Linked DNA regions of Homo sapiens: regions 1, 2, 3, 5 and 6 are each linked to region 4. Evidence: promoter capture Hi-C in 16 types of primary human blood cells and fetal thymus (Javierre and others, 2016). All regions are on one chromosome and are shown on one strand. Each heading gives the region's core, a stretch centred on a gene start or on the middle of the fragment in contact. The rest is flanking DNA. Distances are from core to core; before and after follow the strand shown. Region 1 overlaps SPEN (spen family transcriptional repressor). Region 2 has its middle 6.8 kb from the start of UQCRHL. Region 3 overlaps SPEN (spen family transcriptional repressor). Region 4 holds the start of HSPB7 (heat shock protein family B (small) member 7). Region 5 has its middle 12 kb from the start of UQCRHL. Region 6 overlaps FBLIM1 (filamin binding LIM protein 1).

What was found. The method cuts DNA at HindIII sites, captures the fragments that hold promoters and counts their contacts. A CHiCAGO score of 5 or more calls a contact.
Region 1: a contact is called between a fragment that was not itself captured here and the fragment with the promoter of HSPB7 in region 4, in 1 of 17 cell types (activated CD4 T cells). The highest score is 7.1, in activated CD4 T cells.
Region 2: a contact is called between a fragment that was not itself captured here and the fragment with the promoter of HSPB7 in region 4, in 16 of 17 cell types (endothelial precursors, activated CD4 T cells, M1 macrophages and 13 more). The highest score is 25.8, in endothelial precursors.
Region 3: a fragment that was not itself captured here is called in contact with the fragment with the promoter of HSPB7 in region 4 in 1 of 17 cell types (activated CD4 T cells); the score reaches 6.2 in activated CD4 T cells.
Region 5: a fragment that was not itself captured here is called in contact with the fragment with the promoter of HSPB7 in region 4 in 5 of 17 cell types (endothelial precursors, activated CD4 T cells, total B cells and 2 more); the score reaches 10.9 in endothelial precursors.
Region 6: a fragment that was not itself captured here is called in contact with the fragment with the promoter of HSPB7 in region 4 in 5 of 17 cell types (endothelial precursors, activated CD4 T cells, naive B cells and 2 more); the score reaches 7.9 in endothelial precursors.

What each region holds. Positions count from the first base shown.
Region 1 is chr1:15,879,186-15,883,001 of GRCh38, forward strand. All of the region lies in intron 3 of SPEN (spen family transcriptional repressor), which reads left to right. Among named protein-coding and RNA genes, the nearest start is that of SPEN-AS1, 33 kb to the left of the region's middle. The HindIII fragment of the contact is 3,686 bases long and covers 194-3,816 here.
Region 2 is chr1:15,799,162-15,802,575 of GRCh38, forward strand. No RefSeq gene overlaps it. Among named protein-coding and RNA genes, the nearest start is that of UQCRHL, 6.8 kb to the right of the region's middle. RefSeq lists an enhancer at 1,073-1,367. The HindIII fragment of the contact is 1,225 bases long and covers 1,404-2,628 here.
Region 3 is chr1:15,859,371-15,862,924 of GRCh38, forward strand. The region is part of intron 1 of SPEN (spen family transcriptional repressor); the gene reads left to right. Among named protein-coding and RNA genes, the nearest start is that of SPEN-AS1, 13 kb to the left of the region's middle. The HindIII fragment of the contact is 3,669 bases long and covers 439-3,554 here.
Region 4 is chr1:16,016,621-16,020,225 of GRCh38, forward strand. HSPB7 (heat shock protein family B (small) member 7) reads right to left here and starts at 1,423. Exons shown (of 3, transcript NM_014424.5): 1 at 1,145-1,423; 2 at 454-587. The coding sequence starts at 1,343. RefSeq lists enhancers at 225-971, 972-1,716. The HindIII fragment of the contact is 15,911 bases long and covers 1-3,605 here.
Region 5 is chr1:15,817,255-15,821,066 of GRCh38, forward strand. No RefSeq gene overlaps it. Among named protein-coding and RNA genes, the nearest start is that of UQCRHL, 12 kb to the left of the region's middle. The HindIII fragment of the contact is 8,082 bases long and covers 1-3,812 here.
Region 6 is chr1:15,778,051-15,781,706 of GRCh38, forward strand. All of the region lies in intron 8 of FBLIM1 (filamin binding LIM protein 1), which reads left to right. Among named protein-coding and RNA genes, the nearest start is that of FBLIM1, 21 kb to the left of the region's middle. The HindIII fragment of the contact is 1,995 bases long and covers 584-2,578 here.

The DNA of each region.
Region 1 (3,816 bases), core at 787-3,286, 140 kb before region 4:
CAAAAATTATCTGGAGGTGGTGGTGGGTGCTTGTAATTCCAGCTACTCAGGAGGCTGAGGCAGAAGAATAGCTTGAGCCCAGGAGGTGGAGGTTGCAGTGAGCTGAGATAGCTAGAGGAGAATGATGCCTTCAGAGTAGCATTATACTTTGATGGGAGTATAATGGATCCGCCCTCAGAACTGTAGGCTCAGAAGCTTGAACCTAGAGGTGATCTGATGAATTTGATGGAGCTTAGTCCCTGCTCATGTAATTAAAAAAAAATAAAAAGCAGCTGTATGCTTCTAAATGTTTGCACTCAGAAAGATAACTGCTAGAAGGGTAGGATGCACTTAGAAAATCTGCCTGGGGAGTAAATTACAATAAAAAAGTTAGTGAGAAAGAGGATTTTTGATGATTATTTTATCAAGTTAGGGTAGCTAGATGTATTCATTTATATACCAAAGGCTACAACCTAGAAGTCTGGAGGGTGACATCTGACCAGCAGACAAATTTTTTTTTTTTTGAGGCGGAGTCTCGCTCTGTCACCCAGGCTGGAATGCAGTGGCACGATCTCGGCTCACTGCAAGCTCCACCTCCCGGGTTCACGCCATTCTTCTGCCTCAGCCTCTCGAGTAGCTGGGACTACAGGCTCCCGCTACCACGCCCAGCTAATTTTTTGTATTTTTAGTAGAGATGGGGTTTCACCGTGTTAGCCAGGATGGTCTTGATCTCCTGACCTCGCCATCCGCCCGCCTCGACCTCCCAAAGTGCTGGGATTACAGGCGTGAGCCACCGCGCCTGGCCCAGCAGACAAATTTAATTCACCTTGTATAGTGTTTTAAATTTAAATTATTGCCAGTGTTTAAAAAATTGGAATTTCCACCTAAAAGGCCAGATTTGGGCTCTTGTATGTTTTTTTCCCTCTGATTTGCACTGTAGGACCATACCTGACAAGGAAGTAAGGCATACTGAAATCTGCTGGTTGAAGGCACCTTCTTACCGTGGGCTTGGGGAAGAATCACTGAGAGATTCTTGCTCTGTTACCACTGTCTTATGTCTGTGTAGATTCTTCCTTTTTATAAATCACTATTTTTTTTTCCCTTCTGAGAGGTTATAGAGCATTTACTTAGGTTATTGGTTTCATTTCATATATAGTCATATTTTCTAGAGCTAACAGATTTCAACCCTATATTTACATGTTGCTTTTAGTGAGTTACTTGAACCTCATTCATTAACTTATTGATTCCTTCTAGTTTCACTGATGTGACAAATTTTATGTAATTATAGCTTTTTTTTTTTTTTTTTTTTTTGAGACAGGGTCTCACTCTCGCCCAGGCTGGAGTGCGGTGGCGCAATCTTGGCTCACTGCAACCTCTGCCTCTCGGGTTCAAGCGATTCTCTTGACTCAGCCTCCTGAGGAGCTGGGATTACAGGCACTGCCACCATGCCCGGCTAATTTTTGTATTTTTTAGTAGAGACAGGGGTTTCACTACATTGGCTAGGCTGGTCTCGAACTCCTGACCTCAAGTGATCCACCCACCTCAGCCTCCCAGAGTGCTGGGATTACAGGCATGAGCCACTGTGCCCGGCCAATGATAGCTTTTGTATCTATACATAAAAAGAACAGTGAGATAAATCTTTTGACTGCTGGGAAGACCTGATAGGTAGCATTTGGTTAGGCTATGAAGGATATGCAGGACTTCAACAAGAAGAGAGGAGGTTTAGGCTAGACAGGGAACACTGTGGGCAGAAGGAACAACCTGAGGTGGAAGGATGTTTTGAGCATAGCAGATAATTTAGAATGATTTAACTGTGGTAATGATTTTTTTTTTATTTTGAAGAGACAGAATCCTGCTCTGTTGCCCAGGCTGCTGGAGTGCAGTGGTCATAGCTCCTGGGCTCAAACCATCCTCCTGTTTCAGTCTCCTGAGTAGCTGGGATTATAGGTGCACATCACTTACACCTTGCTAATTTTTAAATTTTTCGTAGAGACAAAGTCTCACTTTGTTGTCCAGGCTGGTCTTGAGCTCCTGGCTTCAAGCGATCTTCCCTCCTCTGCCTCCCAAGTGCTAGGATTACAGGTGTGAGCCATCACGCCCAACTTTTGGGTTTTATTCTGTATGCAGAGAGGGCCATTAAAAGATTTAAGAAAGGAGATAGCTTGTTGAGATCTCTGCTTTAGAAAGGCAACTGGTGACTTATCCATAATCTCTGTTTTTCCTACTCTTGGTACCTCAGAGAAGGAAAATTTGGAACAGGTGGGAGAGACATTGTATTAAGAATCAGATTATCCTGATGTGTAAAAAGCAGAATGAACTTTCTGGTGATATGAAAGAACAAGACTGAGTGGCCTGAATGCATATCACAGAACCTAGTATATTGCCTTTCTCAGAATACATGTCCAATAAGTAGTTGAAATACTTAGATACAGTTCTTAGTTAACATGAAGGATAAAGCAAAATTGATGTAGATAGCTAAAAGTTTTTGTCATTTAAATTGTGATTGAAGCAAGTGTACAGAAATAATCCTCTGGTGTTCAGTTTACATTATTCCCTTTTATCAGATGTTCTCTTTTCCTCTTTAATTATATTGAATTCAAAGTGTAATATTTTGAGATGTTATGAAATTCAGAATGTTCAGTTTTCCTTTTGGAAGAAATAAGTTATTTCTTGTGATCTTTACAACTTGTGAAACTGTGACATTCCTGAAAGTCCTTTAAAGATGTTTAAAGTTAGCACTCGTATAGTGGACAAAATATAGCTTGGTTTTACCTATGGAAACAAGTTTGTCTTCTGTCTCCATGACTGATGGGGAAATTAATCACCCTCCATCCTTATTAATAGTTACACTTTTGATGAAGAGATTGCTAGTGGGGTATTTCAGATGAGTAAACATGGGATTAATGGCAGTCTAGTTGTGAAGTCCTTATAAATAACACATCTATTGTTTCTGCAAAACCATTTACAGTATTTTACTGGTGAGAACTGGGCCTTCATGGCTCCATGTGCTGCTATGTACTGCTCGACGTCTTTTTGTTTCTCTGTCATGGCCGTTTATTGAGCCACATTTCCTTTCAACAGAACATTTTAAATGCGTAAATTCCACAGAAGCATTTATTTTAAAATCCCTTGATTGAAGTTGAACATACTTTATTTCTATAGTTCCCTATTATTGGATTCCCGCCCCCCCAATCAAGTTGTAAGAATTTCCTTTAGGCCAGGTGCAGTGGCTCACACCTGTAATCCCAGCACGTTGGGAGGTTGAGGCGGGTAGATCATGAGGTCAGGAATTCAAGATCAGCCTGGCCAAGATGGTGAAACCCCATCTCTACTAAAAATACAAAAATTAGCCAGGTGTAGTGGTGGGCGCCTGTAATCCCAGCTACTATGGTGGCTGAGGTGCGAGAATCGCTTGAACCTGGGAGATGGAGGTTGCAGTGAGCCAAGATCGTACCACTGCACTCCAGCCTGGGCAACAGAACAAGACTCCATTTCAAAAAAAGAAAATTCTTATTTGCCATGAGCCGAGGAATGCACAGGTACTAACTAGATGGTGTGGACAGCTGACGCAAACTGGGCATATACAATGGGACACACCTGTACTAGGATGAAAGGCACAGCCTAGAGGGCTGGCAGGTGTTGGGTAATGCTCAAGTTTCAGAGTGATGGCAGAAGAGTAGGTTGGTAGGCCCTCATGGCTCTGCTTGGCAGCATCACAGGCCACAGCCCCCCTGGGGCTCTTGGTTCCCCCAGGGTCCAACCAAGTCTGAGTCATGGGGCTAGGATGAAGTTTCCCTTCCCTCCTCAGCAGGAAACCCCCTTCTTCCCAGAAGAGAG
Region 2 (3,414 bases), core at 766-3,265, 220 kb before region 4:
AAGGCACATGGGGGGTCAGGGAGGGTTAAGAATGCTCTCTGGGGCCTGTGAGTCATGGGCCTGGCAGCTTGGGGTTTCCCAAGACTGCTCAGACGGGCTGTGGCATGCAGGGAGCTCAGCCAGAACCTCCCTTGCAAATCTGCACCCTTTCCCCCAGCAACCCCCCCGCTTCCAGCACCCCTCTGACCAGCAACCCCTCCTTGGCAAGGTAGAACTCCCAATGGCCCACCCTGAGATGGCTTCAAATCAAGTCCCACGGGCAGAAAGCAAACAGTGGCTCCACTCCAGTGTGCCTAGAGATCCCGCTTCATTCATTCATTTGTTCATTCATTCACTCACTCTTTAATAAAATACTCATTGACCCCTCCCATCTGCCAGTCACTGCCCTTGGCACAGAGCTCAGTTTAATGGAAAAAGGAGAAAAGAGAACAGTCCGTGCTGGGGAGGCACAGCCAGGAGTCCAGGAGGGCAGGCCATGGAGAAAGTGATGTCAGAGCTGGGCCTAAAGGGTGTGCAGGGGTCAGCCAGGCGAGGCTCTGGAACAAGAGCTATCCAGGCGCTTGCTCTCTGAGCTGGGCACAGCTGAATGTGGCTGAGCATGTGGGAAGTGCAGGATGAGGGCCAGACTCAGGCAGGAACCAAAGCAGCAAGGCTTCCTAGACTCTGTGCCAGGATTGGGGCTTTTTCCCAGGGGGGCAACGGTGAGAAGGAAGAACCCCAAGCCAGTAGAACCCCAAGCCGGTAGAACCCCAAGCCGGTAGGGCAGATGAACTTGCCATAGAGTCCAACTGCCCATAACCACAGAGGTGGTGGCCGGGCCCAGAGAGGGTGTGAGACCGGCCGAGCTCACACAGCTGGTTAGTGGCCAAGCCCTGGGTGTCCTGACTGCCAGAACAGGGCTTTCCCACCCCTCCCACCGCCTCTCTTATCTTCCAAGACCTACTTGTAAACACAGGCAGGCACCTGCAAACATCTGATCACCTCTGCGAGGAGGAGGATGAAGGTGGGGGAATGAAGGCGTGCAGGTGAATCAGGTCAGTGTTGCTCATAGGCTGACCCAGTGCGGATGGTCCCGTCAGTGGCAAGGAGGGCAGGATTCTGCACGGGTGAGAGCACTTGCCCTAGGGGGATGCAGTGAGTCACTGGGTGCAAAGTTCACACTCCTCCTTCCTCCTGGCTTTGATCTGAGTTCCCTGGAGGGAGGTGCAGCCTGGATTCCTGGAGGCGGGGCCATCTCCTCTCCCTGCCCTGCCCTGTGGGTCCAGATTGGGAGGCCGGCTGTCTCCACTCCTCTCTGAACTCCCACACACACCTTTTCGAGGCCCTAGTAAGTTTCCATGTTGGCCTCACTGGCGGGGTCAGACTTGACCTATCACCTAGGACATTCGCTGCAGGAAGTTGGAAGCTTCCCTCTCCTGCTGAGCTCAGCCATGCGTCTTACTGCCTGGTGCCACATTCCGTTCCCTCCTGTCTCTGGGAGGATGATCAGATCTGGCAGAGAGCCCAGGCCTGCCCAACCAGCGGAACAAAATAAATGACCGCAGGGTGGGACTCCGCGGACACCAAGACACCAGGGAACTCTTGGACTGAGCACCAGAGGAACTAACCCCAGTAGCTGCCCCCGAGCAAGGACCTACTACTGATGCTGCCAACAGCCCCGGGAGACAGAAATATTATCACCCTTATTTTATAGAGAGGAGAAAAGAGGGGTGCAAGGGTCATGGGGACAGTGACTGATCCTGACATCCACTAAGGGCCCTCTTGGGTTTTGTGTCATGAGTTGAAAGGGAAGCAGCTGGCAAGGTGGTGTGACATTGAGCTGCGCAAGTGCAGGTGAGATGCGGTGGAGGTGGAGCAGTGGGACTGACCAGTGTTGGGGTTTTGTCAGGACCGCAGGAGGGGGTGGGGGTGGGGCCTGACCATGAATTGTAGGCTGGGCAGGAAGGACACGGAGGGCAGGCAGGCTGAGGGACATGCAAAGGGGGCAGGATCCATGGACTGCTGGAGCCGGGGCACTGGAGGAAAGAAATGAGGTGAGGTCAGAGAGGTCAGTCAATAGATATTATAGAGGAGGGGCAGTCACTGGTCACGGGGGACAGATACTGGGGTGGCACTGCTCCTAGGGTGTAAACCCTTGGCACATAGCCTGCATAGAACAGGCCCTCAGAGAGTATTTGTGGAATGAATGAGTGGCTACTTGCAGTCTGGGGTTGGGTGACTCAAAGGATATTTTACTTTCTTCTCTCTAGCTTTTTTTTTTTTTTTTCTGAGATGGAGTCTCACTCTATTGCCCAGGCTGGAGTGCAGTGGGGCAATCTTGGCCCACTGCAACTTCTGCCTCCCAGGTTCAAGCGATTCTCCTGCCTCAGCCTCCTGAGTAGCTGTGATTACAGGCACCCACCACTATTCCCACTAATTTTTGTATTTTTAGTAAATACGGGGCTTCATCATGTTGGCCAGGTTGGTCTCAAACTCCTGACCTCAGGTAATCTGCCCACCTCAGCCTCCCAAAGTGCTGGGATTACAGGTGTGAGCCACTATGCCCGGCGGCCTGCTTTTATTTATTTATTTTTTTTAATAACAGCTTTACTGAGATATGAATCACACATACAAAATTCACCCTTTTAAAGCTTTCTTTTTTTTGAGACAGGGTCTCGTTCTGTCACACAGGCTGGAGTGCAATGGTGCGATCATGGCTCACTGCAGCCTTGACCTTCTGGGCTCAAGCCATCCTCCAGCCTCAGCCTCTTGAGTAGGCTGGACCATAGGCGCACACCATCTTGCCTGGATAACTTTTGATTTTTCTTTTTTTTTCTGTAGAGATAGGGACTCACTGTGTTGCTCAGGCTGGTCTTGCACTCCTGGGCTCAAGTGATTCTCCCGCCTCAGCCTCCCAAAGTGCTGGGATTACAGGTGTGAGCCACTGTGCCCAACTCTGATTTTTTTACAGTAAGCACATGATAAGGGAGGAGACCACCCCTCATATTGTCTTATGCCCAATTTCTGAATCCAAAGAAAGAAGTAGTAAAAACTAAAAGGCAGAAATGGAATCCACAGGCAGATAGCCCAGCACTGCACCCTGGGCCTGGAGTTAAAAATCAACCCCGACCTAACTCTTCTGTTATCTATAGATTTCAGACATTGTATGGAAAAGCGTCGTGAAAATCCCTGTCCTCTTCCTTTCCGTTCTGATTACCAGTGCATGCAGCCCCCAGTCACGTACCCTCTGCTTACTCAATCGATCACGACCCTCTCACGCGGACCGCCTTAGAGTTGTAAGCCCTTAAAAGGGACAGGAATTGCTCACTCGGGGAGCTCGGCTTTTGGAGACGTGAATCCACCGATGCTCCCAGCTGAATAAAGCCCTTTCCTTCTACAACTCGGTTTCTGAGGGGTTCTTGTCTGAGGCTCATC
Region 3 (3,554 bases), core at 1,023-3,522, 160 kb before region 4:
TTTTTGAGAGGGAGTCTTGCTCTGTCGCCCAGGCTGGAGTGCAGTGGCGGGATCTCGGCTCACTGCAAGCTCCGCCTCCTGGGTTCACACCATTCTCCTGCCTCAGCCTCCCGAGTAGCTGGGACCACAGGTGCCCGCCACAGCCCCCGCCACCACGCCCGGCTAATTTTTTGTATTTTTAGTAGAGACAGGGTTTCACCGTGTTAGCCAGGATGGTCTCTATCTCCTGACCTTGTGATCCGCCCGCCTCGGCCTCCCAAAGTGCTGGGATTACAGGCTTGAGCCACTGTGCCCGGCCTGAAAAGGAACTTTCATCACAGCTTTGTGTCTCAAAGAGTTGTAGCATTTTATTTCCTGTATATTGGATTGATTTGAAATTTGTTTTAAAAATGATTTTCGAGAGGACTTTTCCTAAAAAGACTTCTTATTTCTGGAGAAAGCTTTTAGTTCTAGAGATGCTATAATTCAGAAGATTAAAATGTTGACTGGAGAGGCTCAGGTATTTAATAAGTATAAAGAATGATCAGTTAACATCTTTTTTTTTTTTTTTTTTTTTTTTGAGACGGAGTCTTGCTCTGTCACCCAGGCTGGAGTGCAGTGGTGCGATCTCAGCTCACTGCAAGCTCCACCTCCCGGGTTCATGCCATTCGCCTGCCTCAGCCTCCTGAGTAGCTGGGATTACAGGCGCCCGCCACCACACCCGGCTAATTTTTTGTATTTTTAGTAGAGACGGGGTTTCACTGTGTTAGCCAGGATGGTCTCGATCTCCTGACCTCGTGATCCGCCCGCCTCGGCCTCCCAAAGTGCTGGGATTACAGGCGTGAGCCACCGTGCCTGGCGTAGTTAACATCTTAAGGCATAGACTTCAGTGACTGTTTTTCTTTTTGAGACAGCCTTGTTCTGTTACCCAGGTTGGAGGGGAGTGGTATAATCCCAGCTCACTGCAGCCTCAACCTCCCAGGCTCATCAAGTGACCCTCTCATCTCAGCCTCCCAAGTAGCTTCAGAGGTGTGTGTGTGTGTGTGTGTGTGTGTGTGTGTGTGTGTGTATGTGTAGCTAAGGTCCCACTGTAGTGTGTGTGTGTGTGTGTGTGTGTGTGTGTGTGTAGATAAGGTCCCACTGTATTGCCCAGGATGGTCTCAAACTCCTGGTCTCAGGATATCCTCCCGCCTCAGCCTCCCGAAGTGCTGGGATTACAGGTGTGACCATTACAGGTGTGTGAGTCTGGCTATTAGTGACTTTTTTTTTTTTGAGATGGAGTCTTGCTCTGTCTCCAGGCTGGAGTGCAGTGGCACAATCTTGGCTCATTGCAACCTCCACCTCCCGGATTCAAGCGATTCCCCTGCCTCAGCCTCCTGAGTAGCTGGACTACAGGCACATGCCACGATGCCTGGCTAATTTTTTGTATTTTAGTAGAGACGGGGTTTCACCATGTTGGCCAGGATGGTCTCGATAACCTGACCTTGTCATCCGCCTGCCTCGGCCTCCCAAAGTGCCAGGATTACAGGAGTGAGCCACTGTGCCCGGACTTTTGTTTTGTTTTGTTTTGTTTCTGAGACAGTCTTACTCTGTGGCCCAGGCTGGAGAGCAGTGGCACGGTCTTGGCTCACTGCAATCTCTGCCTCCTGGGTTCAATTGATTCTGCCACCTCAGCCTCCCAAGTAGCTTGGACTACAGTTGCGTGCCACCATGTCCAGCTAATTTTTTTAAAAAATTGCTTTTTGGTAGAGATGGGGTTTCATCACATTGGTCAGGCTGAGTGACTTTTTTTTTTTTTTTTGAGACGGAATCTCACTCTGTCACCTAGGCTGGAGTGCAGATGGTGTGGTCTCGGCTCACTGCATTCCACCTCCCGGGTTCAAGCGATTCTCCCGCCTCAGCCTCCCAAGTACCTAGGACTATAGGCACATGCCACCACACCTGGCTAATTTTTGTATTTTTAGTAGTAACGGGGTTTCAGTATGTTGGCCAGGCTCGTCTCGAACTCCTGACCTCATGATCCACCTACCTCGGCTTCCCAAAATGCTGGGATTACAGGTGTGAGCCAGCGTGCCTGGCCCAGATACTTTTTTATGGAGTAAGGATAAAAGTCACTAGTTAAGTGAAATATTAGAAATATTTGTATATTTCCCATAGTTTTAAAAAATTATTATTTTACTGAAAAGTAAGTCCTAAGGATAGAAGCTGATTTCCTTCTCAGCAGTTGTACTGTAAATAACAGTATTAGTAAGCACCTTTTTAGAGTCCTTTCCATTCCCAGCAAGGACTCTCTTTTTTTTGTGGGGGGAGTAGTGACAGGGTCTTGCTGTGTTTCCAGGCTGGTCTCAAAACTCCTTGCTTTAAACATCCTCTCACCTTGGCCTCCCAGAATGCTGAAATAACAGGACTGGGCCGGGTGCGGTGGCTCACTCCTGTAATCCCAGCACTTTGGGAAACTGAAGCGGGTGGATCACAAGGTCAGGAGTTTGAGACCAGCCTGGTCAATATGGTGAAACCCCGTCTCTACTAAAAATATGAAAAAATTAGCTGGGCGTGGTAGCACATGCCTGTAATCACAGCTACTCAGGAGGCTGAGGCAGGAGAATCGCTTGAACCTGGGAGGCCGAGGTTGCAGTGAGCTGAGATTGCGCCACTTTACTCCAGCCTGGGTGACAGAGTGAGACTCCGTCTCAAAAAATAAAAAAACAAAAAACAAAAATTGCGGGAGTTAGCCACCATTCTTGGCCTTTTGAGGGACTCTTGATGTGGATTTTTGCTAATTTATGATTTAGTCTCTTGGCTTCTGCTAACTTCAGCTTTGTGTTTTGTAGCCTTCGTGTTTGGATCAGCTTGCCTTGCACCTTTTTTCTTAATCTAAGTGCTTTGTTTACTGTCATTACTTTAATAAATGTTTTATTTTGGTTATTAGCAGTTCTATTTACAATTATACTTCAGTTCTTCCTAGAAAAGTACTATGTAAATCAGATACATTTATGAAAGCTACTCATTAATTATTGTGAGAATAGTGTCCGAATGTTAGCTTAATGGTCATCGTGATTATTTATATTCCTGCACTTTACTTTTTGATTCTTGCAGTATAAACTCCTGTCTTGTTCTCTGGGGAGGAAGCACACTGTGAATTTTTTCCAAGATTGTCTAAAATATTCAGGCTTTTTATTTGCTCTAACCAGTAGAATCTAAAGATTACAGAAACTTTGGAATTTTTCTCCTCATAATTTGACAATCTTTTGAGAGGTTTGTCAGTTGAACACTGTCCCTTTGTTAAAAGTTAATTTTACTTAATAAATAATTTTTCATTAGATTGGAGTAAAATATAATGTGAGTATGTATGTGCATAAATAATTTTTTTTCGGTGAAGTGCGGGTAGCTCATGCCTGTAATCCCAGCACTTTCTGCTTTTTTTTTTTTTGAGACGGAGTCTCGCTCTGTCGCCCAGGCTAGAGTGCAGTGATGCAATCTCAGCTTACTGTAAGCTCCGCCTCCCAGGTTCACGCCATTCTCCTGCCTCAGCCTCCTGAGTAGCTGGGACTACAGGTGCCCACCACCATTCCTGG
Region 4 (3,605 bases), core at 173-2,672:
GAAGAGGGCTTGAGGTGGGTCACATGGAGAAACCCCTCCCCCCACTGCCCAGGTGAGTTCCCCACCTACCCGCATCCGCCCCCCTATAGCTACCAGAGGAGCTGTCCTCACTCTGCCATCACCATCTCACACCTGTCATCTCCCACCCTCAAGCCCCACCCCCTCAGGCTCCCTCTGCCCACATCCCTCCATCCCTCTCCCATTCCTCGGAGGCTCCCTCAGCTGCTCAGGCCCTGGAAGAAAGGATCTGGGAACCTCGGTGCAAAGAGAGGCAGTGAGGGGGCCCCATGGCCATGGGTTGCAGGGACAAGGCCTTCAGTTAGCCCTGGGGGAGTTTGGGTGGGGAAGGGACACTGGCCAGGGTCTGGGGTCCCAGGATGGTAAGGGGGAGTAGGAGACATTGGAGGCAGGAGCAGAATTTGGGATGCGGTGAGTAGGGGGTGGGGGGCTCACCTTCTCAGCCCGCACCTCGATGTGGTTGTTGGAGGTGGTGACAATGATGTCTTCAGGTGAGAAGTCTCTCACGTCCACCGCAAACTCATAGGCGTCTCCTAGGGTCTTGATGTTGCCTGCCCCACCGGGGCGGGCTGTGGGATGGGCTGCTGTGAGCGAGGCATGGAGCAGGCCTTGCATGCAGATCCGGGGGTTCTGGCTCCTTCTCTTGGGGCAAGGGGCGGCTCCCCCAGGCCCTACCTCCCCCCTAGCTGTTTCTCCCTAAGCTCCTCCTCATTCCTACAGCCCACCTTTTCTGGGGTGGGGGTGGGGCCTCACCCAGCACAGTGTGTGTGTATATGAGGCTAGGTCTGTAACAACCCCACCCCAGGCCTGGAGCCTGGGGGCTGCCCCCCACCGCTCACCCATCCAGCCCTCCAGGGCTCCAGCTGGGATTGGCTGTGGTTACAGAGCATGGGTGGCCATGGAACCATGTCCAACCCCCAGGGCCACAACTGTTCCTTAGAGGCCCACCTGTTTTCATGGCCACATCTGTCCCTGTGGCCACATCTGTCTTGGTGGCCACACATGGCTGCAGGCTGTGCAGCACCTGTTCCAGGCCGACCGGCAGCCACAGCGCCTTCGGTGGCGCCCTGGAGCAGACGTCCCCTCCCTGTGCACCTCCCCTCCCCTCAGGGCCCGGATCACTTGCCTGGGAAGGCCAGGGGCTCCGAGTGGGGCCGCATGAAGCTGCCAAAGTCATCGGAAAACATGCTCAGGGCCTTCTCCATGGGCGGGTCCTGGGCCGGGAGAGCACGGGAGGCCGAGGAGGAGGTGGAAGAGGAGGAGGAAGAGGAAGAGGAATGGAAACTTCTCTCCGCTCGGAAGGTGGAAGAGGTTCTGTGGCTCATCCACGGACGGCGCCGGGCCCTGCCCAGGCGGGCGAGGGCTGGACAGGAGAGGGTGTGGGCGCAGGCCTCTGGGCGAGCGTGCCAGGCTCCGACTGCGGCCGCTTTATAAGGCCGACTGTCCCTGGGCTTGGGGCCAGCCCCTTGTCTACTAGCTAAATTTAGGCCTCTCCATGGCCCAGAGGGGGCTGGAAATCTTCTCCCGTGCGCCGGCCCTGCTGACAGCCCGACACGCAGGCCGAGAGGGCTGAGCTCACAGCCTGACATTCCAGGCTGATCACAGCAGCCCCAGGGGCCTCCTCACCACTGCACAGGGCTGGATCCTGTCTCCTTGCCACTCGGACCTCGGTGCCTGCCCCAGAACCTTGCAAGTTTGGGGTTTATTGTGTGTTTTGTTTCCCCCGTCAGCCTGGGGGCTCCTGAGGACTGTGCCTCCCCTCCAGACTCTGGTTCTCCTCCACGGCTGTACCTCCTCCATCAGTGTGCAGGCTCCTTGGGGACAGGGTAGGTGGAAGCACCACCGCTCTGTGACGTCAGGAGCTCCTTCCCTCAAGGCAGACAACCTTCACAGCCCATCTCTAAGGAAAGGTTGAGCCCTGCCAGGGGGTGTAAAATGTGCAGCTGTCCCCTGCCAGCCCCCATGGGGACCTGGATTCTGTGCCTGCACTCCCTCTGACTCTCAGAACATTCAGCAGCCCCAAGAGGACAAAGTTGGCAGCTTTCTCCTTAAAGGTCTAGAAGGTTGTGTTCCCGGCAACTGTCTGCTCCATCTCTGTGTCAGAGGTGATGCCTGCGAGCGCCTTAGGTGGGATTTCAGTCAGAGGTAAAAGAGAATTCCGGAAGACAATTATTCTAGCCCTGAGTTCTAGAATGCCTTCTGGGCATGGGCTCCTGGCTGCAAGCTGTCCAGCACGGCCCCGTTTGATCCCCACACAGCTGGGAGGGTGGAGGGGCTCTTCCCATGTTACGGACGGGGAAGCGAAGCCTCTTGGAAAGGGCGGGGCTCGCAGTTGCGTAAGTGGCAGAGCTGGGATTCGAACCTAGATGTGTTGGACCCAAAGCCCTTCAGAGGCCGAGGTGGTTTGAACATGTGCCTATGGAGACAGGCTGGCCCGGAAGAGCCAGAGAAGCCCCTCCCTACCCACCTGCTTGCTCAGCAAAGCTGGGACTGACCTTGCCCTGGGCCAGGGTGGAGGCCATTCTGAGAGGCGGCCAGGCCCTCTGCTCTGCCCAGGTTGCAGTTAAGGGCCTCTGCTGTCCTCTCCAAATCCGTCCCTTCCGTCCCAGATCAGCTCCAATGCCTCCTCCCCCAGGGAGGCCTCTCTGACTGCTCCTGCTCACATGGGCCCACACCCAGTCCAGATGCCCCCAGCACTGACTGTCTTTGTCCTCCCACAGCACCTGGCAGTGTGACATAGTCTTCCTGTGTGCTGTGACTCTCTGCTGTGTCCCTTCTTCCCTATCCAACTGGCAGTTCCCACGGGGGCGAGGGTTCACCTGTCTCCCCATTAGATTGAAGGTTCTTGAAGACGGGCAGTTTCTCTTTTGTCTGAGCCCCCTACAACCCAGTCTGGAGCTTCATCCTGGAGAGCTCCTTCTACAGGGGTATTAGCGGTGCTGGTGGTATGTGGAGTGGAAGCAGAGCAGGGCACAGGGCACAGCGGCGGGCCAGGCTGTTGCCTGGAGCAACAGGGCCTGTTGCCTCTGGCAGAGTTTCCTGCCCGTGTCGGGGCCTGTGACACCCAGCCTGGCTGAGGGGTTTCTAGGGCAGCTGGGAAGCCACCAGCACTGAGGTGAGATGGAGAGAGGGTGGGGCGGGGTGGGGGGCCCAGAGCCTGCCGCTCGCCAGGGAAACAGGAGCCGGTGGCTAAATGCAGACACACTGTCATGGTGCTGAGGGCCTGAGTCACTGCCCCTGGATGTCAGATCCCGTTACCCACCCCCGCCCACCATTCCTCCTCCCCTTTTTCCCCCTTCCCGAGGCATCACCCACACAAATACTGGATCCTCTGGCTTCACTGACCCAGAGGGACCTCAAAAGGTCATCAAGGACATTCCCCTGCCTCTACCTTCAGATCACAGAGACAGAAGGAGCTACAAAGATGATGCAGTCCTTTGAATCCCAGTCACCCAGGAGAGCTTTTCACAAACACAGACCCTTTCCTTGGACCCCAGGATTTTGATTTGGGATCTGGGGAAGGGACCTCACATCTCTTCCCATCAGCTCCCCACACAGCCAGCTCATAGGCCAGTGATGAAGCCCTC
Region 5 (3,812 bases), core at 955-3,454, 200 kb before region 4:
GTGCTGGGATTATAAGCGTGAGCCACCACGCCTGGCCTGAGCATTTTTTCTAAATAATCTTGAAAGGCCTGGTGCTGGGTTAATAGCAGGAACTAGGCTAGTAGCGTAATTAAACATCCCCATATTGCAACACTTAAACATATGGGAATCCCAATGAGTTCCTAATGTATAATTCCTAAATTTAATCCTAAATTGTTCCAATGAATCCTTTTATATGACCTTGGCTAATTATGTAATATCTTAATCTCCAGTGGTAATGATAAATGTGAAAATGATGGCGTGAGTTGATTCATTTCTCCTTGCAGATATTCTATCAGGACCAATGATAAGGGCTTCTAGAAATAAAACCTCAGCAGACAGGAAACTGCCTTCAAACTTCAGCAATCAAGAATATTACTTACTTTAGTCCCTGGAATGCATGAGACAATGGAAATGCACTGAATTAGATTTTTACAAAATTTTTATCAGCTAGAACTTTGGTTCAGATCACTCCTATAATATTCAGGAAGACCATACAGACTTATCATGAAAATGAATAGTTCAGTTTACTTGGGGTATGATTAGTTAGGAAGGAATTAAGAAATCCGTAGCAGAAATATCCATACATTTAAAAGTTAATTCTGGCCAGGCACAGTGGCTCACACCTGTAGCCCCAGGACTTTGGCAGGCTGAGGTGAGTAGATCACCAGAGGTCAGGGGTTCAAGCCAGCTTGGCCAACATAGTGAAACCCGTCTCTACTAAAAATACAAAAAAAATTAGCCAGGCGTGGTGGCGTGTGCCTGTAGTCCCAGCTACTCAAGGGGCTGAGGTGGGAGAATAGCTTGAACCCGGGAGGTGGAGGTTGTAGTGAGCTGAGATCATGCCACTGCACTCCAGCCTGGGCAACAGAGCGAGACTCCATCTCAAAAAAAAACAACTTAATTATGTTACACAGAAAAGTTACAACTCTAATGCTGCATTTGCTTTGGAAATTATAAGCTACCAAGAAGAAAGAAAAGAAAAAAGACGGCTAGGTGGGTGCAGTGGCTCTGACCTCAGCACTTTGGGATGCCAGGGCAGGTGGATTGCTTGAGCCCAGTAGTTTAAGACCAGCCTGGGCAACAGGGCAAAACCCCATCTCTACAAAAAATACAAAAACTAGCAGGGCAGCGTGGTGTGTGCCTCTAGTCCCAGCTACGTGGGAGGCTGAGGGGGGAAGATGGCTTGAGCTCAGGAGGTGAAGAGGTTGCAATGAGCTATGATCATGCCACTGTACTCCAGCCTGGGTGAGAGAGTGAGATCCTGTCTAAAAAAAAAAAGATAAAAATAAAAAGATGTAATATAACACTCACGTGCCCAGCATTATAAATGTAATTCGGGATTTAATTTATGACATAAAGCTAATTGACTTCACAGCTTTGTATGCTGTCTTTTTTGAACTCCTGGCCTCAAGCGATCCCCCCACTTTGGCCTCCCAAAGTGCTGGGGTGACAGGCATGAGCCACTGATCCTGGCCTTTTTATGCTTTTAACAGTTCTATAGGGCCAGGTGCAGTGGCTCACGCCTGTAATCCCAGCACTTTGGGAGGCCGAGAGGGGAGGATCATTTGAGGTCAGGAGTTTAAGACCAGCCTGGCCAAAATGGTTAAACCCTGTCTCTACTAAAAATACAAAAAAAATGAGCCGGGCGTGGTGGCGCACACCTGTAATCCCAGCTACTCAGGAGGGTGAGGCAGGAGAATCACTTGAACCCAGGAGGTGGAGGTTGCAGTGAGCCGAGATTGTGTCACTGTGCTCCAGCTTGGGTGACAGAGTGAGACTTTATCTCAAAAAACAAACAAACAAAAAAACAACACAGACAGTTCTGTAATACTATATGGTTTTATAGGGCAAAACTATTTTGTAAAATATTATTATACTCCATCCATGAATTTCAAAGCAGTTGACAGAATCATTAGAGTCTTGGTGTATTCCTCTATGCTTTTAAAAAAATCCATTTAAGAAATAAAAAAGCCGGGCATGGTGGCTCACGCCTGTAATCCCAGCACTTTGGGAGGCCGAGGCATGTGGATCACAAGGTCAGGAGATTGAGACCATCATGGCTAACACGGTGAAACCCCATCTCTACTAAAAATACAAAACATTAGCTGGGCATGGTGGTGGGCGCCTGTAGTCCCAGCTACTCGGGAGGCTGAGGCAGGAGAATGGTGTGAACCCGGGAGGCGGAGCTTGCAGTGAGCCAAGATTGTGCCACTGCACTCCAGCCTGGGCGACAGAGCGAGACTCTGTCTCAAAAACAAAAAAAAGAAAAGAAGTAAAAAAAGCCGGGCGTGGTGGCTCATGCCTGTAATCCCAGCACTTTGGGAGGCCGAGGCGAGCAGATCACGAGGTCAGGAGTTTGAGACCAGCCTGGCCAAGATAGTGAAACCCCATCTCTACTAAAAATACAAAAAATTAGCTGGGCGTGGTGGGGGGCATCTGTAATCCCAGCTACTTGGGAGGCTGAGGCAGAAGAATCGTTTGAATCCGGGAGGTGGAGGTTGCAGTGAGCTGAGATCACGCCACTGCACTCCAGCGCTGGCGACAGTGCGAGACTCTGTCACAAAAAAAAAAAAAAGAAGTAAAAAAACTCAGTGGACTTTATCCTCATATTAACATAAACAGTTTAAATAGTATTTCTCAGATTATAAAGCACGTTTACATCTATTATCTGATTTGATTGAATGTTCAAAACAATCCTGTGGGGTAGATGTGTTATATATACTTAATAGATTTAATAAATTTCTAAAATTAACTCAATGAATATTTGTCGAGCAACTACTGTTTGCCAGGCACTAGTCTAGAAGATGACCATTCAGACAAAAAGAAAACACACCAAGACCCTACAAAAATGTTTATGTAACTTGCCCAAGAACACAGAAGGTGAATCCAATCATTTTGACTGGTGTATTCTATCATTTTTTCTATCTTAATTTGGAAAAATGAAGCATAGATTTTTTTTTTTTTTTTGAGACGGAGTCTCGCTCTGTCGCCAAGGCTGGACTGCAATGGCGTGATCTCGGCTTACTGCGACCTCCACCTCCCAGGTTCAAGCAATTCTCCTTCCTCAGCCTCCTGAGTAGCTGAGACTACAGGCATGCGCCACCACGCCCAGCTAATTTTTGTATTTTTTTTTTTTTTTTGGTAGAGATGGGGTTTCACCATGTTGGCCAGGCTGGTCTTGAACTCCTGACCTCAGGTGATCCACCTGCTTTGGCCTCCCAAAGTGTTGGGATTACAGGCGTGAACCATGGTGCCCAGCCAGCATAGATAATTATCTTGACTCTGTCTCTTGGTAAATTTGTGGCATTTCTGGCATGGACTTGCTCAACCACATTTGCTTGCCAGCATCTGCCCCCATACATTCCATCCTCCAGTCCTCTACTAGCTGAACTATCGAAAGCCAGTTCCTTTGCTTATGCAGCCCTTCCCTCCTACTTCAGGGCTCAGGTCATCCTGTCAATTCTTTCCACTCTCCAACCCACATCCATTCCCTACTCCCAGACTGGGCAACACAGTGAGACCCTGTCTCTACAAAAAATTTTAAAATTAGCCGGGGGTGGTGGCATGCTCTTGTATTCACAGACACCTGGGAGGCTGAGGCAGAGAGGGGAGGATCCCTTGTACCCAGGAGTTAAAAGCTGCAGTGAGCCATGATCACATCACTGCTGGGTGACAGAGCAAGACCCTGTCTCAAAAAAAAAAAAAAAAAAAACTGAAAACATCCAGCATATTTGTACACAGGGTTTCAATGTCCCCAATATAATGGATACTGTACTTACTTGTTTATCTTC
Region 6 (3,656 bases), core at 331-2,830, 240 kb before region 4:
GACAGTCCCTAGAAGGCCTCTAATCACCCCAGCTAGGGTCACATGCTCATTCAGGGCCAGTCACTGTGGCTGGGGTGCTAGGATTGATAACCACTGGGGCCAGGGAGGCAGAACCATATAAAAAAGGAGGGGTTGTTACAACTGGAGGAAGGGAGAAGAGGATGCTGGACAGATCCACACCACAGTGCCTTTTCCAGGTGCTGGGCAAGAGAATGTAGAAATCAGCTTTGGGGGCCTGGTGCAGTGCCTCACACCTGTAATCCCAGCACTTTGGGAAGCTGAGATGGGTGGATTACTTGAGCTCACGAGTTCGAGACCAGCCTGGGCAACATGGTGAAACCCTGTCTTAAAAATAAATAAATAAAAATAAAAAATAAATCAGCTTTGGGATAAAGAAGGCAGTGATGGTCTAACCAGGATGGTAGAATCAAAGGCACTCATGTAGGAGGCAATGCTTGACTGGGCCTTGCAGGATGAGTAGGAGTTTGCCAGATATTCATAGAGGGGAGAAGTCCAGAAAGGGGAAAAGAGCTACAAAAATCCACGGTAACACGAGCAAGCCTGAAGAATCAGAGGAAGTGGAAGCTTCTTTTTCTTTTTTTTTTTTGAGATGGGATTTCACTCGCGTTACCCAGGCTGGAGTGCAATGGCGTGATCTCAGCTCACTGCAACCTCCACCTCCCGAGTTCAAGCGATTCCCCTGCCTCAGCCTCCCGAGTAATTGGGATTACAGGCATGCACCACCACGCCCAGCTAATGTTTTGTATTTTTAGTAAAGATGTGGTTTCTCCATGTTGGTCAGGCTGGTCTCAAACTCCTGACCTCAGGTGATCTGCCCACCTCAGCTTCCCAGAGTGCTGGGATTACAGGCGTGAGCCACCGTGCCCAGCGTTTTTTTATTTTTGAGACAGTCTCACTCTGTCTCCCAAGTTAGAGTGCAGTGGCATGATCTTGGCTTACTGCAACCTCCAGCTCCCTGGTTCAAGCAATTCTCCCTGCCTCAGCCTCCTGAGTAGCTGGGATTACAGGTGCGTGCCACCACGCCCGGCTAATTTTTGTATTTTTAGTAGAGATGTTGTTTCTCCATGTTGGCCAGGCTGGTCTTGAACTCCTGACCTCAGGTGATCCACCTGCCTCGGCCTCCCAAAGTGCTGGGATTACAGGCATGAGCCACTGCACCCAGCCTAGATCAACTCTTTTGAATGTTACTTTTTCACTTAGAAATTGTCTCTTTTAAATTGTTTTTATTAAATTTTTATTTATTTATTTTTTGAGATGGCGTCTCACTCTGTCACCCAGGCTGGAGTGCACCAGTGCGATCTCAGCTCACTGCAACCTCCACCTCCTGGGTTCATGCGGTTCTCCTGCCTCAGCCTACCAAGCAGCTGGGACTACAGGCATGTGCCACCACACCTGACTAATTTTTGTATTTAGTAGAGATGAGATTTCACCACGTTGGCCAGGCTGGTCTTGAACTCCTGACCTCAAGTGATCCACCTGCCTCAGCCTCCCAAAGTGCTGGGATTACAGGTGTGAGCCACTGCACCCGGCCAGAAGTGGAAGTTTGTAGATGTGACTGGAGTGTAGAGGGCTGGGGTTATGGTTAATGATTAGGTCAGAGAGAAGGAAAGGACTATGGTGCCAGGCTAGAGAGTCTGGACTTCAGGCTGCAGAGAGGGGTCAGGCTGAGATGGGCGAGCTGATTAGAAGCTGGTGCAGTTGTCCCAGGAAGAAGGGCCCAGGAGTCATCACATGTGGCTTGGTGATCAGAAGGGTCCTATGCTAGTTTTGAAGTTCTGCTATTGCTGTCTTTAAATTCTTGATTTTTGTTTGTTTGTTTGTTTTTAATAGAGACAGAGACTGGAGTCAGGCTGGAGTGCAGTAGTGTGATCATAGCTCACTGTAGCCTTGAACGAACTTTTGGGCTCAAGCAGTTCTCTCACCTTAGCATCCTGAGTAGCTGGAAGTACAGGTGCGCACCACCACGCCCAGCTAATTTTTTTATTTTTAAAATTTTTGTAGAGTTGACTTCTCTACAAAAATTTGCCCAGGCTGGTCTTGAACTCCTAGGCTCAAGCGATCCTCTCACCTTGGCCTCCCAAAGTGCTGAGATCACATGCATGAGCCACTGCGCACGGCCTGAAATTCTTAAATTTTTTTTTTGTAGAGACTGAGTCTCACTTTGTTACCCAAGCTGGAGTACAGTGGCGCTATCTCGGCTCACTGCAACCTCTGCCTGTCAGGTTCAAGCAATTCTCTTGCCTCAGCCTCCTGAGTAGCTGGAATGACAGGCTTACACCACCATGCCCGGGTAATTTTTTGTATTTTTAGTAGAGATGGGGTTTCGCCATGTTGGCCAGCCTGGTGTTGAACTCCTGATCTCAAGTGATCTGCCCGCCTTGGCCTCCCAAAGTGCTGGGTGGCGTGAGCCACCACACCCAGTCAAAATTCTTAATTTTTGAACAAGGGGCCCCACATTTTTATTTTGTCCTAGATCGTACAAATTATGTAGTCAGTCCTGCTGAGGAGGCTCAGAAATCCTCTCCCACCCCTTCTACAGCTGGCTCCTTGTCACTGAAGCTTCTGTCTTCTCCGGTGATGGTGACAAGGTGGCAACTTTTATGCGGGGACCTAAGTGGAGAGCCCCAGAGCAGATCTCTTACTCAGCCGATGAGTATTTCGACACACCTGTTCACTCCCATTTATTTAAACAGATACTGGAACCCAGAGGCTATTTTCACTGAGGTTATCAAAGGAGCTGGGTAGAGAAGTTGATAAATTGCTGAGTAATTACATTGTCTTTGTTGGTTATAGGTCAAAGTCCTGCTGATAATGCATTTTGAAAGCCCAGTGAGGAAGTTTAAGTGCTGTTATCCCCAACATCATCCTCACGAGTTCCAGCAGTGACTGGCACCTTCCTGAGCCTGGCCAGGAAGCGAATAAACCCCCCCGGTAGTCCTTGATGACTTGGCCGAGGTGGTGTAGTAAGTCGGCATTTGGACTCCAGCAGTTATGTGTCAGAAGATGAGGCTTCTTGGCCAGGCATGGTGGCTCATGCTGGTGATCCCAGCACTTTGGGAGGCTGAGGCAGGCGGTCAAGAGATGGAGACCATCCTGGCCAACAAGGTGAAACCCCATCTCTACTAAAAATACAAAAATTACCTGGGTGTGGTGGCGTGTGTCTGTAGTCCCAGCTACTCGGGAGGGTGAGTCAGGGGAATTTCTTGAATCCGGGAGGCAGAGGTTGCAGTGAGCCGAGATTGCACCACTGCACTCCAGCCTGGAGACAGAGTGAGACTCTGTCTCAAAAAAAATTAGCTGGGTATGGTGGCGCACACCTGTAGTCCCAGCTACTTGGGAGGTTGAGGCAGGAGAATCACTTGAACCTGGAGGCAGAGGTTGCAGTGAGCAGAGATTGTGCCACTGCACTCTAATCCTCCAGCCTGGGCAACAGAGCAAGACTCTGTCTCAAAAAAAAAAAAAAAAAAATAATGAGGCTCTTGAACTGCAGCAGCCTGGAAGGAGTTGAGTGCTGTTAACTAAGAAGAAAAATGGGTTTCCCTGCACTGCCCACACCCACATCTCACCATTTCTACTTGCTTTGGGGTCCATATTATTTATGACTATTGTTGGAAGGATAACAATACTTTTATATG